Regions from separate parts of the Homo sapiens genome. Here regions 1, 2, 3, 4, 5 and 6 are each linked to region 7. The links are contacts of gene promoters, found by promoter capture Hi-C in blood cells and fetal thymus (Javierre and others, 2016). All regions are on one chromosome and are shown on one strand. Each heading gives the region's core, a stretch centred on a gene start or on the middle of the fragment in contact. The rest is flanking DNA. Distances are from core to core; before and after follow the strand shown.

The links. The method cuts DNA at HindIII sites, captures the fragments that hold promoters and counts their contacts. A CHiCAGO score of 5 or more calls a contact.
Region 1: a contact is called between a fragment that was not itself captured here and the fragment with the promoter of TRAF6 in region 7, in 17 of 17 cell types (neutrophils, total CD8 T cells, total B cells and 14 more). The highest score is 24.8, in neutrophils.
Region 2: a contact is called between a fragment that was not itself captured here and the fragment with the promoter of TRAF6 in region 7, in 1 of 17 cell types (neutrophils). The highest score is 7.0, in neutrophils.
Region 3: a contact is called between a fragment that was not itself captured here and the fragment with the promoter of TRAF6 in region 7, in 1 of 17 cell types (neutrophils). The highest score is 6.0, in neutrophils.
Region 4: a contact is called between a fragment that was not itself captured here and the fragment with the promoter of TRAF6 in region 7, in 1 of 17 cell types (neutrophils). The highest score is 6.2, in neutrophils.
Region 5: a fragment that was not itself captured here is called in contact with the fragment with the promoter of TRAF6 in region 7 in 2 of 17 cell types (neutrophils and non-activated CD4 T cells); the score reaches 10.0 in neutrophils.
Region 6: a contact is called between a fragment that was not itself captured here and the fragment with the promoter of TRAF6 in region 7, in 11 of 17 cell types (neutrophils, non-activated CD4 T cells, total B cells and 8 more). The highest score is 14.8, in neutrophils.

The regions. Positions count from the first base shown.
Region 1 is chr11:36,291,413-36,294,611 of GRCh38, reverse strand. No RefSeq gene overlaps it. Among named protein-coding and RNA genes, the nearest start is that of PRR5L, 3.3 kb to the left of the region's middle. The HindIII fragment of the contact is 2,854 bases long and covers 397-3,199 here.
Region 2 is chr11:36,358,672-36,361,783 of GRCh38, reverse strand. The region is part of intron 1 of PRR5L (proline rich 5 like); the gene reads right to left. Among named protein-coding and RNA genes, the nearest start is that of PRR5L, 64 kb to the right of the region's middle. The HindIII fragment of the contact is 8,514 bases long and covers 1-3,112 here.
Region 3 is chr11:36,376,602-36,379,962 of GRCh38, reverse strand. The region is part of intron 1 of PRR5L (proline rich 5 like); the gene reads right to left. Among named protein-coding and RNA genes, the nearest start is that of PRR5L, 82 kb to the right of the region's middle. RefSeq lists a silencer at 2,454-2,603 and an enhancer at 2,197-2,768. The HindIII fragment of the contact is 4,948 bases long and covers 1-3,361 here.
Region 4 is chr11:36,336,107-36,339,262 of GRCh38, reverse strand. The region is part of intron 1 of PRR5L (proline rich 5 like); the gene reads right to left. Among named protein-coding and RNA genes, the nearest start is that of PRR5L, 41 kb to the right of the region's middle. The HindIII fragment of the contact is 3,974 bases long and covers 1-3,156 here.
Region 5 is chr11:36,307,836-36,310,971 of GRCh38, reverse strand. The region is part of intron 1 of PRR5L (proline rich 5 like); the gene reads right to left. Among named protein-coding and RNA genes, the nearest start is that of PRR5L, 13 kb to the right of the region's middle. The HindIII fragment of the contact is 4,413 bases long and covers 1-3,136 here.
Region 6 is chr11:36,273,087-36,276,665 of GRCh38, reverse strand. It overlaps COMMD9 (COMM domain containing 9), which reads left to right. Exons shown (of 6, transcript NM_014186.4): 5 at 426-529; 6 at 1,894-3,579. The coding sequence ends at 2,034. Among named protein-coding and RNA genes, the nearest start is that of COMMD9, 15 kb to the left of the region's middle. The HindIII fragment of the contact is 1,272 bases long and covers 1,474-2,745 here.
Region 7 is chr11:36,508,590-36,512,058 of GRCh38, reverse strand. It overlaps TRAF6 (TNF receptor associated factor 6), which reads left to right and starts at 1,787. Exons shown (of 7, transcript NM_004620.4): 1 at 1,787-2,011. It also overlaps a transcript of RAG1 not described here. RefSeq lists an enhancer at 1,919-1,968. The HindIII fragment of the contact is 10,105 bases long and covers 1-3,469 here.

The DNA.
Region 1 (3,199 bases), core at 574-3,073, 220 kb after region 7:
TGCCAATGCCTTGGTCTTGGACTTCCCAGCCTCCAGAACTATGAGCAACACATTTCTGTTGTTGATAAAGCCACCCAGTTTATGGTATTTTGTTATATTAGCCCATATGGACTAAGACGACTGGTGAGCTGATCAGGCCACGTCAAAGCCACAAAGGGGGCATAAAGTCAAAAAGATTGATCAGCCCTTTCCCCCTGCAACCCACCCTCATCTCTGGACTGAGACAAAGGTGAGGAAAAGGGAAACTAGGGGAATAACAGGAGGGTGGCAAGGGCTCTCCTTAAAGGACTGCAGGACCCTGGGCCTAATCCACCTCCTGCAGGCATTCCTCTGACAAAGAAGGCAGCCAGGACTTAGTAGTGAAACCAAAGGGGAGAATAGGAGTTTATTTAAGCTTCCATAACCTTCATCAGTTACCTCAAATGAACCAAAGTAGCGTAAGTGACAAAATGTGTTTGCTATGCAAATGCACCTTAAAAACAAGACTGCTCACAATGAGATACCACTTCATACCCGCTAAGATTGCTATAATCAAAAAGACAGAACCAGTTACAAAATGTGTTTGATATACCAATGCAACTTCAAAACAAGACGGCTCACAATGAGATACTACTTCATACCCACTAGGATCACTATAATCAAAAAGGCAGAGCCAGATGCAGTGGCTCCCATCTGTAATCCCAGCTACTCAGAAGGCTGAGGCAGGAGGATCGTTTGAGGCCAGGAGTTTGAGACCAGCCTGAGCAACATAGCAAACATATGTTTTAGAGACAAAACATATTTTTTGTCTCTAAAACAAATAAAATCAAATTAGCTGGGTATGGTTGTGCATGCTTGTAGTCCCAGCTACTCAGGAGGCTGAAGTGGGAAGATCAGTTGAGCCCAGGAGTTTGAGGCTACAGTGAGCCATGATTACACCACTGTACTCCAGCCTGGGTAAAAGAGCAGAGACCCCCATCTCTCTGTCTCTTTTTTTTTTTAAACAAATGTTGGTGCAGATGTGGAGAAATTGAAACCCTTATACATTGCTTCTGGGGACTGTAAAATGGTGCAGTCACTTTGGAAAATGGTCTTACACTTCCTCAAAAGGTTAAACACAGAGTAATCATATGGCCCAGAAACTCCACTATTCCACTCTTCAGTGTATACTCCAAGAGAAATGAAACACATGTTCACACAAAAACTTTGTACATGATTGCTCATGGCAGCATTACTCACAACAGCTAAAAAGTAGAAACAACTCAAATGTCTACAACTGATGAATGAACAAACTATGGTATATCTGTACAAAAAAATATTATTCAGCAAAAAACGAATGAAGTACCGATACAGGCTATAACATGAACGAACCTTGAAGAAGTTTCTCCTCTTATGCTAAGTAGAGGAAACGAGTACAAAACATATGATATGTGGTCTTTTGTACTCGTTTCCTTTACTTAGTATAAGAGGAGAAACCGTATCATATGATCCAATTCATGGGAAATGTCCAGAAGGCAAAACCATAGAGACAGAAAGCAGATTAGCGATTGCCTAGGGCTGGGTGTGATGGGGAGAATTGGGGGCAGAGGTGGGTGTTGATAGCTAAAGGATATGCTGTTTCTTTTGGGGATGATGAACATGTTCTAAAATTAATTGTGGTGATAGTTGGACAACTCTGTGAGTATACTAAAATTCATCGAATTTTACACTTCAAATGGATAAATTGTATGGTATGTGAATGTTAATTCTATTTCAATAAAGCTACTATAAAAAAACCCTCAATACTAAGATTGCTGCCCTTAATCATTTTCTACTAATAAATTCTGTGTCCATATCCCTTGCTTCATATCTGCCCCACTGGAGAAATCAGGGCAAGTGTTCCAAAAGGCTGGTTTCCCCCAAGGCTCAGGGCTCAAACTTGGGTGACTAACTGGCCTGGTTTGTCCAGAACTGTCCCAGCGCTAGCCCTGAAAGTCCTGCATCCAAGGAAACCCCTCATCCCTGGGAAAACTGGGATGGCCAGTCCCCCTCGTGCAAACCCTTGCCCACAACAGGGGAAAGCTCTGCCCTTTAGCGTTGCCAATGACTAGAACTGAGAATCCACATAAGCAATCCTTCCCCTTTTGGGGTATAAGTCATCCTTGAGCTCCCCCTAATGGCCAAAAGGTATTTTTATTATTGTTCCCATTTTACGGATGATGAAATTGAGGTTCCAAGAGGGGAAGTAATTTGCTAACAGTACACAGGAGTTGGAAACTGAACCTAGGTCTTTTCCCAAAGCCCAAGGTAGCCCTTCCACTCACTCATTATATTGTTTCTCACCATCACCAGACTGATTGTACAGGAACACTCTTAGATTGTTCTTGCTGCCTGAGGAAGGTAGTCAGACATGCAAAGAGAAGAAACACAAATTTACAGCTGTGGGACAACAAGGAGACATGTACAGCTTGGCGGTTAACAGTGCAGAATCTGGAGCCAGACTGGCCATATTTGAATCTGGGCTTTGCCACTACTTAGCTGTGTGACCTCAGACTACTTAATCTGCCTATGTCTGTTTCTCCATATGTAAAATGGAAACAATACAGTGTGTGTGCTTATATATGTATATGTACTTATGTGTGTGTGTACATATGTGTGTGTATGTATATACATACGTATATATATAATATCATAGGATAGGAATGGGAAGTAAATTAATCAGTAAATGTAAGGGCTTAGAACAGAGCCGGGCACATAACAAGTTTATTAAATAAATGAAAGTCAGCACTGATTCCTATATTCAGAATTGGAAAGAAATTAGGTTTGGCCTAATGAAAACCAGGCAATGGGACCAAATCACAGAAATGAACTCCGACATTCTGTTTTGTTCCCACCCATGAAAATGTTTATGGTTTAGAAATTGCTGGACATTCTGCAGACCACAGACAAACCTTTACATGCAACATGGCATTGGCAATCTGGGCAGCCCTACCAAAATGGGATGACATGGTGCCATTCATATCATACCAGCCCGCGAGAGTAAGGAGAGCTGGGAATCCTCCCACTGAAGCAGCTCCTGTCGCTCAGCTCTGCTCTCTGAACTAGATGGGTGTGATGAACACCATTTTACAGAGGTGGAAACTGAGGCCCAGAGAAGTTCAAGAATTTGTACACGGAAAAGTTAATAATGTGTAGAATTAGGATTCCAACTCAGGTTGAATTCTAAAACCCCTATGCTTTG
Region 2 (3,112 bases), core at 39-2,538, 150 kb after region 7:
CAAGTAAAAACAAGTGACTTGTGTTAGGTCACACTTAGGAAAATTCTGCAGAAGTCCAAGGGTAATGAAAAAGGTTGTCTCTTTACCTCATTTTTTTCAGTAGACATTGATTTGCCCACATAAATGAACAAGTATAAGCAAACACACTATCGTTTGATCACATTCCCACAATGATTTCTTTCCTCTGGTAGAAACAGTAAATACCTAGAGATCAGTGACTCAAACTTTTTGAACTCAGTAACCCTTTAAAGTCTTAGAAATTATTATGAGCCTTAAAGTCTTTTGTTTTTATAAGTTATATCTGTTGATACTTAACATATTAGAAACTAAAACTGAGAAAATCCTTGGTTATTTATTAATCGATTTAAAAATAATTTTAAAAGCCATTACAAATTAACATAAGTAATGTATTTTTATGAAAAATAGCTATATTTTCCAAAAGCAAAAGGTATATATAGCAAGAAAAGTGGCTTTGTTTTTTATTTCTGCAAATCTCTTGAATATCTGGCCTAAGAGATCTGGATTCTCGTATCTGCTGTGCACTTAGTCTGTTGCAATACCAATGCCATGTCACCTCCGGAAAACTCCACTGTATACTTGTGTGAAAATCAGAGTAGAAAAGGCAAATAATATATTAATGTTGTTAGTCTTGTTAAAATAGTTTTGAGCTCATGGACCTCCTAAAAGGATCTCAAGCAACTAAGATGAGTTACATAGGTGGGGACCAGTGCAAAGTGAAAGTGCTGTTTCTTGTCCAAAAGTTATAAAGCATTTCAAGACAGCCACAGCAGAACATTGAACTGAGCTCTGAGCATGGGGCCCTGCGTGACTTCACAGTTCCTGCAGGCAACTTCAGGGGTCTCTGACCACATGTCGAGAACTGCTGCTGTAGAGTTATACTTGCTTCTTGAATCAAATGAGTGGCTTAAGACAATTAGTGTACACCAGGGTGATATCAAGTTAGGAGTGTGTGCATGTATGTGTGTTTGAGCTGCTGGATCACCAGGTGTAAGTGTTCTTGAGTAATAACATATACCTAACAAGATAAAAGCATGACTTACACAGATTTTCCCCCTGGGTGTATATCATAAAACCTTACCCTCTTATTCAGCCTATTATTCCACACTGACCCTAAACATACACACACACATGCATTTATGCATGCACACACATACGCCTTGAGCTGATGGCTTGCATGCATGTGGGTGTGTGTGTTACATGTGCGATGTTACATGTGCACATACCCCTTTGTGTTCCAAATGGCTGCACACCAGATAGTCAGATATTTGTCATGGTTTCCTGTTTTGGGTTTTTATTGGGTGACAGGCTTTGATCAGCAAAACTGACATCTCTCGTCCCCATTTTCCTGTTTGGTACCTTATACATAGTAGGCACTCTAAGCATTTGCTGAGTTATATTTTATAACTCTGGTGGTTAGAGAAAATTATGCTTATTAAATACTGTTAGCAACTGATGGTTAGCACATAGATATCCCATTTGATCCTCCTTCCTGAGAACTCAACACTTAGGGAGGTAACCATCCCACTAATAATAGGTAGACTTGTCCAGAGAAGAACAGTATGTCATTGTCATTCTACTAGACACAAGGTAGCAATATTTCATGATTCTCCTGAGATTCAGGCATGAATTTAGCTAATAAAGAACATAAGTTTTCTGTTTTGTGTGTCTGTGTGTGTGTGTGTGTGTGGGTGTGTGTGTATGTGTGTGTGTGTGTGTGTGTGTGTGTGTGACAGAGTCTCACTCTGTCGCCCAGGCTGGAGTGCAGTGGCATGATCTCGGCTCACTGCAACCTCTGCCTCCCAGGCTCAAGCAATTCTTATGTCTCAGACTTCCTAGTAGCTGGGACTACAGGCGCGCATCACCATGTCCAGCTGATTTTTGTATTTTTAGTAGAGATGGGGTTTTGCCCTGTTGGCCTTCAAACTCCTGACCTCAGGTGATCCACCCACCTCGGTCTCCCAAAGTGCTGGGATTACACGGGTGAGCCACTGCACTCGGCCAGGCTTCTGAAGTATTTAAAACAATGCCCTATAGTTTCTGTTATAGACCAGTCTGGATTTATCCCGTCTCTGTCTCTGTTGATCCGCTCCTTTGGGACATACTGTTAGTGTCTTCATGGCATCTGCTCTGGAATCATCATGTCTGTATCTTATCTGTTATTTTCTACGTTTTAATGAAAGTGTTACACTAATTGCTGACATCTTTGCATCATTATTGATTGTCAGCATTTGATCACAAACATTTGTGTCTTCCTAAAGAACAAAACACCAGAATAAAATGATAATTAATATGTAAAAAAATTAAAATTAAAATTAATGCCCTAGACTCCAGTAACAAATTAATCCATTTCAAAGAATAGTATACACTTGTATAAATATAATGTGGACTCTATTACAATTCTGGTCAAATCACCTCTCTCTCCAACACCGAAGGAAGTGACTGTGGCCTCTCTCCCACGCTAAGACAAAATCTTTCAATAAGAGGATTAATCTTTCACCTAAAATGGCAGAACATCCTTCTATTCTCATTAGAAGTTAATACCGCTTCACGTACAAAGGACCCCTGGATCTTTAGTTCAAATCTGCCACTTACAGATGAGGAAACTGAGGCTCAGCGACATGAAGTGACTTATTTGTCCAAAATCACACACAGCTATTTAATGGCAGCACTGGGACTCAAATGCAGTTCTCCTAGCATTAGATAAAGGACCATCCAACCACAAGAATATGAGCCTGCAAGTCAGTGTGGGTCCACGTTACTGAAAATCCAACCACTGATTACTAAAAATCCAAGCACTGATGTATCAGGGATTGTCAATAAGTAAAATGCAAAACATCTCCAAATCTAGCCAGGTGCCAAAGCCCTTAACCAGTGCCCTGAGCACTATCGCCTCCCAGATGTATGAAGTATCTTTCCTTCCTCTTCAGTATCTTCATCCTCTTCCCCTTTGCCAGCCCTTTTTCTTACTTCCATTGTGTATTTATCACCTTGGGAAGAAGAAAAAACAAACCTCTACATGGCTGGCTACTCCTTGTAGTTGTAATTCTATTTCTTTCCTGACAGTTACTGCCAAATTCTTGGAAGTTATATA
Region 3 (3,361 bases), core at 113-2,612, 130 kb after region 7:
CCTCTCTGAGCCTCTGTTTTCTCATCTGAAAATAGAGAAAATAATACCTTCCTACCTGAGTTGTTGGGAGGCGCAAATACCATTACCATAGCTATACCTGACTCACAGAAGTTGCCCAATAAATAAGTCAGCTCATTTGTTTTAACTGTACAAGTTTCAAAGTAAATCTTGGATCCCCAGGTACTGACAAAAATGTGAATTAACTCAAATTCACCTCTGATGCCCCATCACTGCCATCCATCCCCCTCCTTGGCTCCATGTGAAATCTTCTCTTGTAAAACAGTGCTTTCTGCTTATCAGGGTACCGCTCTCTTTGTTCCCCAATTCCAAACCCCATAATATTCTGTACAAAATCCACAAAATATTTTATTCCTATATTTCAGCAACTAAAATATTAATTCACACTGACTTGTTAACAAAGGGTCATTTCTACAAGCATTGCCTTTAACATGTATTTACATTTTACATACAGAGAGGCAACTCTTGAGAACAAACCTTTAATGATGAACATTAGACATTGTAAGGATCTTTCAGAGGAACTCACACACTGTTTTTCAAATCAATTCTGTATTGGGTCTAGCTCTGCAAAAAGAATGAAAAGGAAAAAGGCTGCAATTTAAGAGAGATTTCAGCATATTTTACCTTGTACAAAAGGAACAGCCACAGGAAAACAGACACATGCATACCTACAAATCATTAGTATGGAGAAATCTGAAAAAATTAAGTAATCCACAAAGTCCTTACTGAATTCAATTTTCTACAGATAAATGGCTTTAATGCTGAAGATACATTAAGTCAAGGAGCAAAGTGAGGATTATGATTTAGGTCTGGACTATCAGCAAGAGATTTTCAGATAACCAATATAACAGTTTTCTAAAGACAAGATTAGGGCTTTTTTCCCCAATAACTGAGCCAATTTGTAACATTCTGTGAAATTTTGAAAATAAATAAAAAGCCATCCATCTAATCAACTATAACGTGAGCTAATCAACAATGGAGAATTGAAGGGAAAGACATGTCCAGACTATGAGTCTGGAGTAACAAATCTGTAATCCATTCTCAGCTCCATCCCTGTGTGTATGGCTTTAGACAAATTACTTAAATTCTCCAAGCCTCAGTGGGCTCATCTATATGATAGGGATATAATAGTACCTATATCATTGTTTGCATGAGGAGTATATAATATTATCAAAGTCTCTCAGTGCAAAGTTTAAGACATCATTAAGACCTCAAGAGGCATTTGCACCTTTCCCCTTTTTAAAACAAGTGGCACATATTTGTAATGTTCTAAGACAGAACATTATTGAAATTTCACCCACAGAAATAAATATATATCCATGGCCCTCTGGACCTGAAAGAAATGAGGTCCCACCCTTGAGAAACAAAGTAGTCTAAACTAAGCCTTTGAGAAATAAGCTAGTTAGACTTTCTTATTTCTAGTGCCTTTCTTCTTTTACATATTAGTGGTTCCAGTTGTTAGAAGCATCAGTAACATACTCAAAGAACAATGGTTGCAGTTGGAAAAACTGAAGACAACTTTGTGGATTGACCAAGCATCACTTCCCTTATCTGAAAGGCTACATGCTACAGAAACCGCTCTAAACAGCACCCTTGATCCTGATTCTAGGGCTGCAACCAGAGAAGACTAACCAGCCAGGTTCCACAGACAGGAGCCCTGCACCTTCGTCAGTCATACTGGGAACCTTACCAGGGGCTAAATTTTAAATGTGGCTAAATTAGTTTCTGCAAGCTCCATTTCCCCTCCTGACCCGCTAGCTGCTTCGTGTTGTCAGTAACAGCGCCTTCCACCCCAGAGCAATTTACCACAGCTCAGCACTTTGACATTTTGCAGTATGTAGGGCAATGAAATGTCATGACTGCAAATTTCTACGGTGGTCAGGATCACCAAAGAGAGGTCAAAAAGGGTAGTCTCCCGGGCTTGATCAGCAAGGGTCCCTTGAGGATGGTGGGGGATGAAGGCAGTACATTGGGCCGGTGGCATCCCTTTGGTCCTTAGCATGGGTCATCTGAATGTGCACGTGTCGTCTGGGCAACAGGTCCAGAATTCTGCCCAAGCAGGGAAGCCCGGAGATTCCAGCCCAGAGCTTTTTCCACGCGGGTCTCCGGGGCAGACGTGCAGCTCAGACGCAGCGCGTGAACCTTTCGTCTTGTGGGGCGCATCGCAGTAATTGAAACCTTGCGCACCGCAGGACTGCCGTGGCGTCTATAAATACTCACCGCCTAACTGCTGACAAACAAAACGCGGGCTCCCGGCACCGCGGGGGAAGAGGCGGCGGCAGCATGTGACCGAGGACAGGGACTGGGTAGAACTGGGGGTAACCCCTTTTGCCAGACAGGAAGGCATCCCAGAGCGGATTCCTGAAGCACAGTTAGCAAGCACACAGCCTGGTCCCACCCCGGGCGGCGGCCTCAAGGAAAATGGGCCGGAGGGTTGGGCAGGCAGGGTCCCAGCTGCCCGGGCGGGGCCCCTAGAGCGCCCCCTGCGTGCAGCGAGCCCGGCATGCGCGCACAGTAAGCGCGCAGAGGAAAGCCTCGCCGAAAGGAAGGCAGGCGGGAGAAATAAAACGGAAGGGGGATACTGCGGACTCCCAGCGCGGGGTCCGCAGCCGGGCCGTCCCAGGGCTTGCTCACAGCCCGTCCCGGCGGGATCCCCACTGGCTGGGCCCTGGCCCACCCTAGTCCGCAGAGCGCGCGCGTGCAGCAGCGCACGGGACAAAGTGGCTCCCTGCCCTGCCCTTCTCTCCCACGCCTCCCTCCAGAAAAAGGGGGACCGCCGGGAAAAGGCTGCTGCAGGCGCGAAATCTCCCGTGCTTAAGCGGGGTCAGCTCTTTAGATTTGCCCCCCAGAGGGAGAACGAGAGAGTCAAACAAGCCGACTTTCTTTTTCGACCTCCCGGCTCAGCCTAGGTCCCATGATCACCAGCATCCGCATCCCACCTCACGGCGGTACTTCAACCACCCTAAAGAGCAGACCGGGAGCGTGGCCTGCCCACCTCCCCACCATGGTGGTCTCGAGTAAGATCCCCTACGCCTGCCTGCAGCGTCCGATCGGAGGATCCTTAACCATGCAGGAGTTCCCACCTGGTTGCCCCCCCAAACGTGACACTTTTCCCTAGCTCCTACCCCCGCCACGCCGCGCCCCGTCAGATTAGCGCGCGGTAATTTTCGCTCAATCCTGCGCGGTTGCTGAGCCTATGACTCCGGCCCCTCCCAGAGACGCCCCCCACCCACCACTCACCTCCTTGGGGTCCCCGGCGTGAATCACCCCGAGTCGCGCACACCCGCCGCTCGCCTCCGCCCCAGACTCCGCGCGCCTAGGAAAAAGTTTCCGGTCTTCCCGA
Region 4 (3,156 bases), core at 160-2,659, 170 kb after region 7:
AATTAGCTGGGTGTGGTGGCCGGCGCCTGTAATCCCAACTACTCAGGAGGCTGAGGTGGGAGAATTGCCTGAACCCAGGAGGTGGAGTGTATTAGTCCATTTTTACACTGCTGATAAAGGCATACCTGAGACTGGGCAATTTACAAAAGAAAGAGGTTTAATTGGACTTGCAGTTCCACATGGCTGAGGAAGGTCTCACAATCATGATAGAGGGCAGAAGGTACTTCTTACATGGTGGTGGCAAGAGAGAATGAGGAGGAAGCAAAAGTGGAAACCCCTGACAAACCCATCAGATCTCATGAGACTTATTCACTATCACGAGAATAGCACGGGAAAGACGGGCCCCCGTGACTCAGTTACCTCCCATTAGGTCCCTCCCACAGCACGTGGGAATTCTGGGAGATACAATTCAAGTAGAGGTCTGGGTGGGGCACAGCCAAACCATACCACGGAGGTCGCAGTGAGCCAAGATCACGCCACTGCACTCCAGCCTGGGCAACAGAGTGAGACTTTGTCTCAAAAAAACCAGATTTCATAGGCAATATGAGGATTTTGAGGAGTGGTCCAACATCTTATTCCATACAAAATTCCCAACACAGAGCATGATGTCACATGTGAACTATGAGGCCAATAAATATTCCCTACATAAGGGGATCCTGCCGTCAGGGAATCTAGAATGAGGGGTTGAAGTGAGGGGTAAGATCTAAGTGTGTAAAAAATTAACAATGAAAGATTTTAGCTTTTCAACTAATCCAAAGAAGAGAAATCCAAGGCAGAAGAGAGTGATTATCTGAAGAGATCTCATGGTCATTTCTAGAAGAGTGCCACGTCAGAAGTCATTTCAGATTCCAGCAATTACGGGAAAGAATCATGGAAACAAAATTACAGCTTGGATGTCAAGCAAGAAAGCATTTCAAGCGGGGTGAATGAATGGAGAGAAAGTGACAAATACAAGGTGTGTTTTAGAGACTGTGAACAAAGGAGCTCAATGGGGATAGAGTATTAAGAACTGCAAGTAAGTAAAGGAAACCTGAAAAGCTGGGTTGATACTTGATTGAGAAAGGCCTTCAATGCCAGGCTATGGTAGAGACTACTAGATGTCTCCCCTTCTTCCTTTTTAACAAGACATCTAATTTATTTTCCTAGCATAGACTGTATTTATCAGCCTTACTGGTAGCTGGGTATGGCCACGTGACAAAGTTCTAAAGAATAAGACTTAAAGGAAAGTCCTATGCACAAATTCTGGAATGTGAACATAATGGCTGAAACTTTGGCACCATCTTAGATCATGAGGCACAATGTTAAAGATGATGAAAGGAAAAGAAAGGGACCAACCTCCCTGATGAATATATCAGCCTGGGACATCTGACCTCTGAACTGTTTCACATTAAAGAAACTTCTTTGTGATATAAGCCATTATTATTTTGGATCTTAACCTGTGCCTGAAATTATTCATAACTGATGAGCAAGCCAAAGACTTCACACTTTCGTCCTGGAGCAGCAGGCAACCATTGGAAGTTTAGGAGCAGGCAGGTTGTAAGATGAATATGTGGTGTGGAGGATACCATGCGGAACAATATGGCAGCAACTGTGCAGGAAGGACGCAAGGAGGCTAAGAGCTCAGAGAGGAAGTTGAGTGCAGCCATTTAGGCAAGAAGAATAAATGAGCATGTGCTGAAACCTGTTTGGAGGTAAAACCATTCTAAGAATTGGGATTTTAAAAAGTCATAAATACACAAGAAAATTTTCTTAGTCCATTTGGAATGCTGTAACAGAATGCCCTAGGCTGAGTAATTTACAAAGAGCATACATTTATTGCTCACAGTTCTGGAGGCTGGGAAGTTGAAGATCAAGATGTTAGAGGGCTAGATGGTGAAGTCTTGCTCACTGCTTCATAGATGGCACCTTTTGCTGAGTCCTCACGTGGCAGAAGAGGGGAGAAGCCGGAAGGGGCAAGTAGACTTCTCTAAGCCCTTTTGTAGGAGCACTAATCCCATTCAGGAGGATGGAGTCCTCATGGCCTAATCACCTCTGAAAGGCCCTCCTTCTTAATACTATTGCATTGGGGGTTATTAATTTTGGGGGGATGACCCATGGGGGAATGACCCATGACCCAGCGACCGTGGCAAATACAATGCATTTTGAAAATGTTGAAAAGGTTGTTGCTTTTTAGCAACAACCTTTATGGCCTAACTCCTCTATGTCTTGGTTTCTTCTTCATCTATATGATAATGGAGATAATAATTTACATGCCAGGATAACTGTAAAGATATTTATTTATTTATATATGTTTGTAGTATACCTGTAATGTGCCCCCACACAGTGCTAGATGCTCAGGATACAGAGGTCGACAAAACTCTTAAGAAACAGAGGTACCCATCTATGAGGGACAAAGCCAATAAGTAAATAATGATATGAGATAATTTCTTCAGTGACAATTGCTATGCAGTTTAGAAAACTATGGTACATAGGTGTATTACAGGTGGCATGCAAGAGGATTCTAAATGGGAAGCAGACATTTTTAATTGTAATAGCTATATGTTTATAACACATCTTAGAAAAATACATGCTTTTCTATTGATGAGAATGACGTTTATTTATTCAACAAACATTACTTAAGCACCTACCAGGTACTAGATTAGGCACTAGGGGAATACAGCAGAGAGCAACACAGAAAAATCCCTGACATACCAGCGCTAGCATTATACCTTAAAAAAAAAAAAAAAAAAAAAAGGCCAGGCGCGGTGGTTCAAGCCTGTAATCCCAGCACTTTGGGAGGCAGAGGCAGGCAGATCACTTGAACCCAGGAGCTCAAGACTGGCCTGGGCAACATGGCAAAACTCAGTCTCTACTAAAAATGCAAAAATTAGCCGGGTGTGATGGTGCATGCCTACAGTCCCAGCTACTTGGGAGGCTGAGGTGGGAGGATTGCTTGAGCCCAGGAGAAGGAGGTTGCAAGTGAGCTGTGATCGTGCCACTGCACTCTAGCCTGGGCAACAGAGACCTCATCTCAAATTAAAAAAAACAATTAGTTTTCTTTTTAAAATACATTTAAGTTTGAAAAAGAGAGTCTATTTTTTAAGTAAACAATGCCTGGTTGGTTGGCAGATATGGCAAAAATGGTGAGGGTGATACAAAATCAGCCACATTTGGATG
Region 5 (3,136 bases), core at 78-2,577, 200 kb after region 7:
CAGGCAGAGTGCAGTGGCATAATCTCGGCTCACTGCAACCTCTGACTCCCTGGTTCAAGCGATTCTCTTGCCTTGGCCTCCCGAGTAGCTGGGATTACAGGCACACGCCACCATGCCAAGCTAATTTTTGTATTTTTAGTAGAGACGGGGTTTCACCATGTTCGCCAGGATGGTCTCAATCTTCTGACCTTGTAATCTGCCCACCTCGGCCCCCCAAAGTGCTGCGATTACAGGCGTGAGCCACCACACCCAGCCCCTGAGAACATTCTTAACCAGTGACTAAGGAAGTTGCTGTATAAATATTGCAAGTCCTTTTCCTCTTGTGTGGGAGAACTCTTGGGTGCATGTTCCATGCTGGTTCTGGGAGTCCCCTGGTAGGATTTAGCTTCAGTCACCCACATGGGTAATTTTCTTGACAATTCATCTTTTATTGGCTACTTTCCCTTGCCCACCTAACTTCCTTACTTGTGTAACAGTAACCTTCCAAATAAATTACTTGCATTTGTATCCTTGTCTCAGGGTCTGCTCCTGAGTGAATTCAAACTAAGAGGCTCTACTTCGCCCCTATTAAATGCTCTCTGGGTGGACTCTAATGGGCTCATTCTTATTAAAGTGTAAACAGCTCCTAAGGATCAGGGGAGTGAGTTTCAAAGTGGAAATATACTTAAGGCAGTAGTTCTAAAGCAGTGGGCTGGACACACGGGAGTTCTTGATGCGCTTGCTGCCAAGTTTTGATCTAACGGTAAAATCTATTTTTGCAACAACTGATCGTACTTATTGTTATTCACTGTCAGACAGAGTTGTGAACCGAGAATACCCTTGGGGACAGAGTAAATTGGGGTACCATTTGTAGCACATATGAGTAAAGAAGCCCAGCATTATGTCAAGCCACGGAATGATGATGTGTTCTTTTGAGAGGACACAACAGGCTTCCAGGTCAGGATGGTAAATTGTTCTGCTCTAATAGTGATGGTGGTGGTCGTAGTGGGGATGATGGTGGTGGTGGTAGTGGGGATGATGGAGTCATTCTTTGACATGGAGTCAAAGAATTGCCACATAACTAACGGGATAATCATGGGTGATGTACAGACACTTTGAGACATCATAGAACTGTAAAAGTGACTGTGTTGTCATTATGGTGGACTTGTTGAGTATGGATGAGTCTCTTCATCCCTTTAATCTGAGAAGTGTGCCAAAACACACATACAAAATCTTTAATTGTGGCTTTCAGATCACAGCCAGTGAGAGGGATCTGGAAGAAAGAGAAGACAAGGAAACATTTTTGGAGACTTTGAAATCATATACCACCACCACCATCATCATCCCCACTACCACCACCACCATCATGCTCACTACCACCAACAGTAAAAGACTTGGTTCCAAATAAGGAATGTTTAAACTGACTGTGATATTCAGTTCTCAGGTTTACCTGTTGATTTTCTTTGAAGAAAATCCCATCACTAAATGTACAGTTTGAAAACCATAGATATGCCTGATAATTTTATTCTTAAAACTACCATTAACTTGCAGGTGAGGAAAGTAAAGTTGAGAGAAATTAAATGACATGCCTGAAGCCACAGACTAGACGTGAGCTAAACTAGTACACAGCTGTGGTCCAAAACCTCACCATGTCTAGTGCTCTTTCTTCTACATTATTCTACATTTGCGTATTGATGATGAAACACATGGTTTAGTAATTTCTTGGCGTTGATGCTTGTTTTGGTGAGAATAGGTCAGAAAACAGTTTATAGAAAGTTCTTAGAATTTAGGCTGCTCCAAGAAACTCACCAAAACAACTCCAAGTCTTTCCCTCCCTGAGCCATACTTAACACTTGTTATTCCAGGAGCTGCTTCGATGAGACATATTCTCACAGCTTATCTAATTTGTCTACACTCTCCATACACTTTGCTGAATGCCCTCAAATTTCACCTGTATCCGTCTACTATTGCTGCAATACTGCTGCAAAATAAAAACTTTGTGACTGAGGAAAATAAGCCTTTCTTTTTCTCACTTACAGATCTGCAGGTTGACTAGGGCAATTCTGCCTTAGTTCAGGTTTGTGTCTGTTCCATGTGACTAATTCTGGAGCACAGGGAGAAAGGGCAGTGGCTACCCAAGTTATGCTCTTCTGTTGGCTGTCAGAATAGCAGAAGGCCAAGCCAAACAGTGCAAGCATTATTTAAAGCCTCTGATAGAGTCATATCTGATCACATTCCATTGACCAGAACAAGTCAATGCCCAAGCCCAGAGTCAGTGACTCAGGAAGTGTACTGTGTCCCAAGGTGGAAGGGAAATGAGTGAAGATTTACTGAACAATACCTCAATCTATCACATCAGCTAAAATTGTGATTCCCACGAAGGGAGGTCAAGCAGGTCTTTCCAAAGTCCTCTAAATCTAAAATGCAATACTATTAATCAAGTTAGTCCCATAAGCTGCGAGGAGGAGACCATCCCAAAGTGACCTTTCCTGAGACACCCAGGGGGAATGTGTAATGGCACTCTTCCAGGCTAGAGACAGCAAGGTAGAAATTATCTAGTGGAGACCATGGCATTTCAAAAATCAACTACTTCACTTCTAAAAACCTGCCTCAAACCAAACTTTCAAATCCCCTTTCTTTGAGGATTGGGGCCTGAAGATAGAGAGAAAGAGCAGATGTGGACGACTTATATTCTCCATCCTCAATAATCAATTTCTAGCAATGGAAGTCTTGGCAAAGACACAGAATGGCACAGCAGCTATAAACAGGCTACTGAGTTTCACAATTGCATGTTTGAGTCTCTACCAATGCTGGATACATTGGTTCTTCCTTTCAACTCTACAACATCCATTTCCCCTCTTTCTTCCTAATAAAATCCCAATTTTTCTCAGGAAATGTTCCCCCTCAGGGGACAATGACCCACCTCCAGCACAAACCCCAGGGACAGACTGAGAGGGAATTCCATTCACCTTGCCAATGATTGGTTCCCAAGTAGGTAAGTGACCTAGATTGGGCCAGTGAGACATACAGTGTGCCTGTGGGGGAAAGTTTGCTGGAAAAAAGAAAGAGATTTCAAGAAAAATTTCATCATTCCAAGGAGAAAACTCTAGGAATAAACTGTCCCTCTCTTCTTCCCCTGGACGTAGCAAAGGGAAAT
Region 6 (3,579 bases), core at 860-3,359, 240 kb after region 7:
AGCAAACAGAAGCTCAGAGGTTAGATAAGTGGTAGCACCTGTATTCAAGTCAAGTCCATTTATCTCTAAAACAAGAGCTCTTACCACTATTGCTGAAGCTACACATTTCCTAAGGCTCAGGCCATGATTTCTTCTCTGCTTTATGTCACTTCTCATTCTGCCCTAACATCTGGAGGGCTGGGTGTTCAGGTAGAAGCCTGGATACGCTGCCACTGTGAATTAGTACCAAGTGCAGGCAGCACAGAGCAATGGGTAAGGCACATGACTCGCTGTGGGTCTCGGGCTTTGTTTATCTGTCTTTCTCAGAGACTTGCTGCATAGACCAATGCATTGCATGTGTGCAGTCCTCAGAGCCGCCTGTCGTACAATAAATGCTTGGTAAACACGGGCGGCATGAGCATTGAGCTGAGCTGTTCCTTCCACAGTCTCTCTGCCACGCCTGGTCGATCTGGACTGGAGAGTGGATATCAAAACCTCCTCAGACAGCATCAGCCGCATGGCCGTCCCCACCTGCCTGCTCCAGATGAAGGTACATTCACTATCATGCCATTAGAAAGAAGAGGCAGCACCCCTATGGCCGTCTAAAACACTAGTCTCCAAGGTTTGGGATCTCTAACCCATATATTTTTTTAAATTACCATCCCCTTTATCCTCCTTTGTTTAGTTACAACGTGTATGTGTACTACTGCAGTAACATACTATGGACATATTAAAACAATAAAACAAATACAAAACATATTTTTAAAATAATTTGCTGATACCTAAAGGTAACCCTATACTCTTAGCAGTTTAGCTTTAACAATAGTAGTGTGCTTCCAGATTTTGAATAGCCTGCCCGATCATTTCAGTGTACTTCAGCAACTTCTTGTCCAGTGATTAGGCTGTCATTATTTGTAATGTGGCTGCTCAAGAGTTTCTACTAGTCGCTGGGAGCAGTGGCTTACGCCTGTAATCCCAGCACTTTGGGAGGCCGAGGTGGGTGGATCATGAGGTCAAGAGATCAAGACCATCCTTGCCAACATGGTGAAACCGCATCTCTACCAAAAATGCAAAAATAAGCCGGGCGTGGTGGCGGGCTCCTATAGTCCCAGCTACTCAGGAGGCTGAGGGAGGAGAATCGCTTGAACCAAGGAGGTGGAGATTGCAGTGAGCCGAGATCACACCACTGCACTCCCACCTGGTGAAAGAGTGAGACTCCGTCTCAAAAAAAAAAAAAAAAGTTTCTACTAGCAGCTGGAGAAGTGTCAGGTCTTCATTTTCTTGCTCACATACCTTTGCTTCATTGGTGTTGTCTTCATTTTATAGTTATTTTCAGGAATCTTTTTAAGCTACATATCCATATTGTAGTGTTTGTTTAGTTAAAACTAGAAATGTAATGCTGTATCTACATAACCAGACACCCAGAAAGTTACCACTTGTAAGAAAATGAAGAAGGGTGCCTCTAGCAATTAAGTTTTAAATATTAGTGAAGCTTAACTTCTTTATTTTTTAAAACTAAAGGTTGTAAGATTGTTCCTGCATCCCAATGCAGGATTGTCTGAAGTATCCAACAGAACCTGCTCCTTAAAGTACCAATGTAAACACACGTAATGTTTTCTTGCTTGAATGCTGAGAGTTAGGGTATCAGAGAGGTGAGTGAGCCTTGGCTTGGCCTTCTTTGATACCTACCCAAGGCACTTGTTGCAAATGGAGACTGACCCAGGCCTCTGAGGTATCTCCTGTACTCTCCCTTACTGCTAAATGACCCAAGGGCTGGTACTCTCTAGTGCTTAGGAAAGAGCCTCTCTTCAGAGGTTCAGCAGAACTGAGCTCAGCCTCGCAGGTTCAGGGCTCACTTACAGGGATATGGGAAAAGAGGCAGCTTTGACTTTCTGGGCTGTGTTCTCGTTTCAGATCCAAGAAGATCCCAGCCTATGCGGAGACAAACCCTCCATCTCAGCTGTCACCGTGGAGCTGAGCAAAGAAACACTGGACACCATGTTAGATGGCCTGGGCCGCATCCGAGACCAACTCTCTGCCGTGGCCAGTAAATGATCCAGCCAGCTGCCAGGGCCACTGCCATGACCCAGCTGCTCATGAGTGATAAATGTCTCCCCATATGCAGGCTGCCCTTGCAGCTGCAGCTGACAACAGGCAGGATGGTGGGGACAGCAGGGGGCTACTGCCATCCAGAAGTTACAGTTGGATTGGGAAGAAGCAGCCAGATCCCCCGCTGTTCTCACTCATCTTCTTTCTCTTTCTGAAGCTGGAGAGCAGAAGCCCCCATCTTTGAAAAGCTCCTGAGTGCAACTTAATTACCACCATGGCAGGGTGAGGGAACATTTGCATCGTCAGCTGCCTCTGCATAGCTGTTTGAGAAATTCAGGCCCAAATCATGCAGCCTATCCAATAAGTAAGTTTATTTCCAACATTAGCTCTAATTAGTTCATTTCCAATCCCAGAACACATGGAGGGAATCGGACAGGTGATGCCAGCAGTTCCTGCTCCTCTGTCAGGGAAGCCAGGCAGAGCCCACAGAGCATGGTCCATCCAGAGTGTTCCCTGAGCCCCCTCCACCATACTGGAACCCCTCTTCAGTGTAGGAAGTCTGAAATGGGTGCTAATTCCCTTCTTCATGAAACCAGGGCCCTCTTCCTTCATCTAATGCAGCCACTCCTAGGTGAAGAAGTGGGAATAATTGGAACTAAACAACAGTTCTAAAACTTCCATGATTTTTGTAGCTTCTTTTGTCCCCAAGTTGAAGCTTTTGGCCAGTACCTTCTCTAGTTTTTAAAGATGATCCCAACTTCCTAATTCCCAGCTAAGCCCTTGACCCATGGTGTGACATGAAATCAGGCAATTGAATCGCACCACTTTCTGTGTTTTCACCTGTTACGTAGAACAAAAGGAAGCAAGGTGGCCAGGCGCAATGGCTCACGCCTGTAATCCCAGCACTTTGGGAGGCCGAGGCAGGCAGATCATGAGGTCAGGAGATCGAGACCATGGTGAAACCCCATCTCTACTAAAAATACAAAAAATTAGCTGGGCGCGGTGGCGGGCATCTGTAGTCCCAGCTCCTCGGGAGGCTGAGGCAGGAGAATGGCGTGAACCTGGGAGGCAGAGCTTGCAGTGAGCCGAGATCGTGCCACTGCACTCCAGTCTGGGTGACAGAGAAGGACTCGTCTCAAAAAATAAAAATAAATAAAAAGGAAGCAAGGCTAATCATCAGTATGTGCTTGTTACAAGAGCTATGATGAAGGCACTCCTTCGAGTTTAACCAAATGAGATCATCTCTGTCATGTGCCTCACGCCTCACAGGGACTCCATGTGTGAAGATTCCCCCTTCACTCACCAGATCATCTCCATGGCAACAGCTTGCAGCCTGCTCTTGGAGTGCTTTGTTTTGGCAGCTTCTCTGCTAGTTTGTGTATGGAGTGAATGGAGGAGGTAAATCCACAGATTAAGAATATGCTGTCAGGAGTCAGGCAGCCAAGGTCAGAAGCCAGCTCTGCTTCTCAGTGGTAAGGTGCTTGACTTCTACATCTCAATTTTCACCCACTTTGTACTTTTTTCCTAAATTAAATGAGTATAATAGTAGTA
Region 7 (3,469 bases), core at 538-3,037:
GAAAAGGCCCCTTGAGGGCACTTATGAAAACAATGTAAAGAAACATACACAGAACACCTAATCTTTTTGAAAGCCTGGTGCTGGAGTCTCTCACAATAGATTTTTATTATTTTATACTGACAAAAGCCTGGTAAGGTAGACATTATCCCCTTTTTTATAGTTTTTGGTCATTGTAGTTCATGGAGGTTATGTAACCTGCCCCAGAGCTCACACTAAGAAGTGGAGGGAACTCTGATTCTCTTGCTCTTCCTTTTCTCCAGCTCTCAATTTCATATAATGATCTTTTCTTCCATCCCATAAGAGATTTAATTTTTAAGAGGAGCTTCTAGGGAGGGATACACAAAGGCTGGCAATGTTTTATTTTTTAAAGCTGGGTGGTGAGCACACAGATGTTTGTGCTCTTTTTATGTCTTAAGTGTTTCAAAATACAATCTTTTAAAAGGGGGTTGACAGAACCTGAGAACCAGTGATAAATTCTTCTTAAAAAGAGAAGCATTTTTAATGAATATTGGCAGCCAGAAAGTAGGACATATAGTATTGGTAACATTTATTGAGCCCATACTATGTCCTAGTTTTGGGTTTATTTGTTTGTTCGTTTGTTCCTTGAGACAGGGTCTCACTCTGTCACCCAGGCTGGAATGCAGTGGTGCAATCATGGCTTACTGTAGCCTTGACTGCCAGGGCTCAAGCCATCCTCCCACCTCAGCCTCCAGAGTAGCCGAGACTACAGATATGCACCACCACACCCAGGTAATTTTTAAATTTTGTGTAAAGATGGGGTCTCACTATGTTGCCCAGGCTGGTCTCAAATTCCTGGCCTCAAGTGATCCTCCTGCCTTAGCCTCCCAAAGTACTGGGATTATAGGCATGAGCCTATTTGTGCCTGGCCAGATAGTTTTAAATAATTTCTTTACATATTTTATCTCATCCTTCCAACAACCCTGTGAGGTAGATACTATTATTATCCCCATGTTAATACGAGATGAGAAAACTGAAACAAGTACAGATTAAGTATTTTACCTGAATCACACATTTATTGTAGGAAAAACCGGATTGGAACCAAGCATTCTGGCTTCAGGATACATACGCATGACTACTATCCTGGAAAACCTCCCCTAAGAGGTGGACGATGAACCAAATATGCAGAGGTGGATGAAACTCTTTTGTGCTTCTCCAGCAAAACGCGTGGTACATTCTCTAGACGTTTATGACCAGTTAAACAGGGAATTTAAAATAGTTTTCCCATGACAGAGAAAGACAAAGCGCTGGTGTTCTTGGCAGGAAATTCAAAGAAATATTTAAGGCAAGGGCTGACTCCCTTGGACCGGATGAAGGGGAAGAGCAGGTAATAATAGAGGGTTCTATGGATCGCAGAAACTTCCTGGGCAAGGAGGGTGGAGCTGGGGAGGGGTTTAAGAATTCCTGAAGGTCAAGCGATCTAGCCCAGCTGGGGTTTTCTCCTGCTTGGAGAGGGGTGCTATAAAAGCGCAGTTTGGGATTACTACTGTCGCCACTGCTCACCAAATTAAGTTATTCCGGGAGGGATCTTCTCGTCGCCATCCTCATTCCAACACACACCCATTGACACACTCGGGTTCGGCTGTGCGGTGCAACGAATTCCCAGGTGGGACACCCGAGCAGGAAGAAAGCCAGGCTGCGGGGCTGGGGGCGCCGCCCGGCCCGCGCCACAGTCCGCCTGGAGGATCACCGCCAGGGGGCACTCTCTCCGAACTCGGCCGCTCTGTCTCCTCCCCGGCGCGCTCCCTGCCCCTCGCTCCCCGCAGCCAGCAGAGAAGGCGGAAGCAGTGGCGTCCGCAGCTGGGGCTTGGCCTGCGGGCGGCCAGCGAAGGTGGCGAAGGCTCCCACTGGATCCAGAGTTTGCCGTCCAAGCAGCCTCGTCTCGGCGCGCAGTGTCTGTGTCCGTCCTCTACCAGCGCCTTGGCTGAGCGGAGTCGTGCGGTTGGTGGGGGAGCCCTGCCCTCCTGGTTCGGCCTCCCCGCGCACTAGAACGGTGAGTCTCCTTCAGGCGCCTCCTCCTGGCGGCCGCCGCCTCGCTTCCCAGCGGTCAGGGACGCCGCCCCCCGCCCCTTCGCTCTCGGCAGGTCGGGGACGCAGTCCCTGTCCCCTCGCTTCCCACCAGTCGGGGACGCCTCCCCTGTCCCTTCGCTTTTCACAGGTCAGGGACGCCGCCCCTACCCGCTTGCTTCCCACGGGTCGGGGACGCCGCCCCTGTCCTCTCGCTTCCCGCTGGTCGAGGACACCGTTCCCTGCCCCTCGCTTCCTGCAGGTCGGGACGCAGCCTCTGTCCCCACGCTTCCCACAGGTCGGGGACACCGTTCCCTGTCCCCTGACCTCTGCTCCCCAGGCCTCCTCTTCCTCGCTCATTCCACCCCCTAAAAAACCCCGCGTCGCCTTACTCAACCTCGCTCCCCTCAACTCCGCTTTTTCCCCTTCCCAGATAAGGAAATTGCCTCCTGCAGTTGTCCGCTCCTTGGAGCAAACACCTGCTTAAATTTTTAAAAAATCCTTTACGTTCCTGGCGACTCCGGCTGTCACTGTCATGGGAAAGCTATTTTTGGATTCCCTGTTGAACTCTATAGAAGTCTCAGGCAGCGAGTTTAAAAAAAAAAAAAGGCTCAGATGACACGAATGTTTTCTCCCCCGCCCCTAAACTCGGTAGTTCGAGCGATTGTTCCAGACGCCGGGTTGATAAAGCTGTTCCTAGTATTTGGCTTAAGGGGAACTCCAGCTGAGTTAGGACTGTCTTGAATGTGAACAGAAAGCACCTAAATAAAGTATTAGCAGCTTCGCTGTATGGTATTTAATTGTTTCTTTCTCTGAGAGCAGATTACTATTACTGAATGTCTTGTTACACAGGTTCCATGTAGAAACGAGAAAAACTGGTAAAGAAATTCTGTGTTGGCCTTGTGAACTTGGCCGCTATCATTTCATTCATTCTCCTTTGATTACTAGGGAAGGGAGAGGGGCTTTTCAAATTTTGAGGTTGAGTGTATAGGCAGGAACAATGTGGCCTCTTTTGTGACTCTAGGAAGGAGTCCGGCATGTGGTGGGTACAGGATCACATCAGAGTTTCAGCCTGCATGCACCACAATATTTCAGAATTGTAACATGAGCTCTTCTCTGTGATAAATTTGGGCATGTGATGCCGGTAAACTTTTGGACACTTAGATTTGGAGAGAAGTTCAAATCCTTGCCTCCTGGAGCAGAGTAAATAGTGCCCAGGAAGGGGAATGCCCCTTGAATTTGGATTCAAAGTTAAGGCACAACAGTTGAGTATTTTGCAGCATCTCTTGGCCATTGGAGTACATTTGTAGGTCTTCACACTTTAGAAATTTAAGAAGCTGGTAAACAGTTTCTGTTTCTAAAGCTAGTAGCACATTAAAGATAATTTCTCATATTTTCTTTACATGGTTTTACTTCAATAAGTTACATGTTTACTCGTATGAAT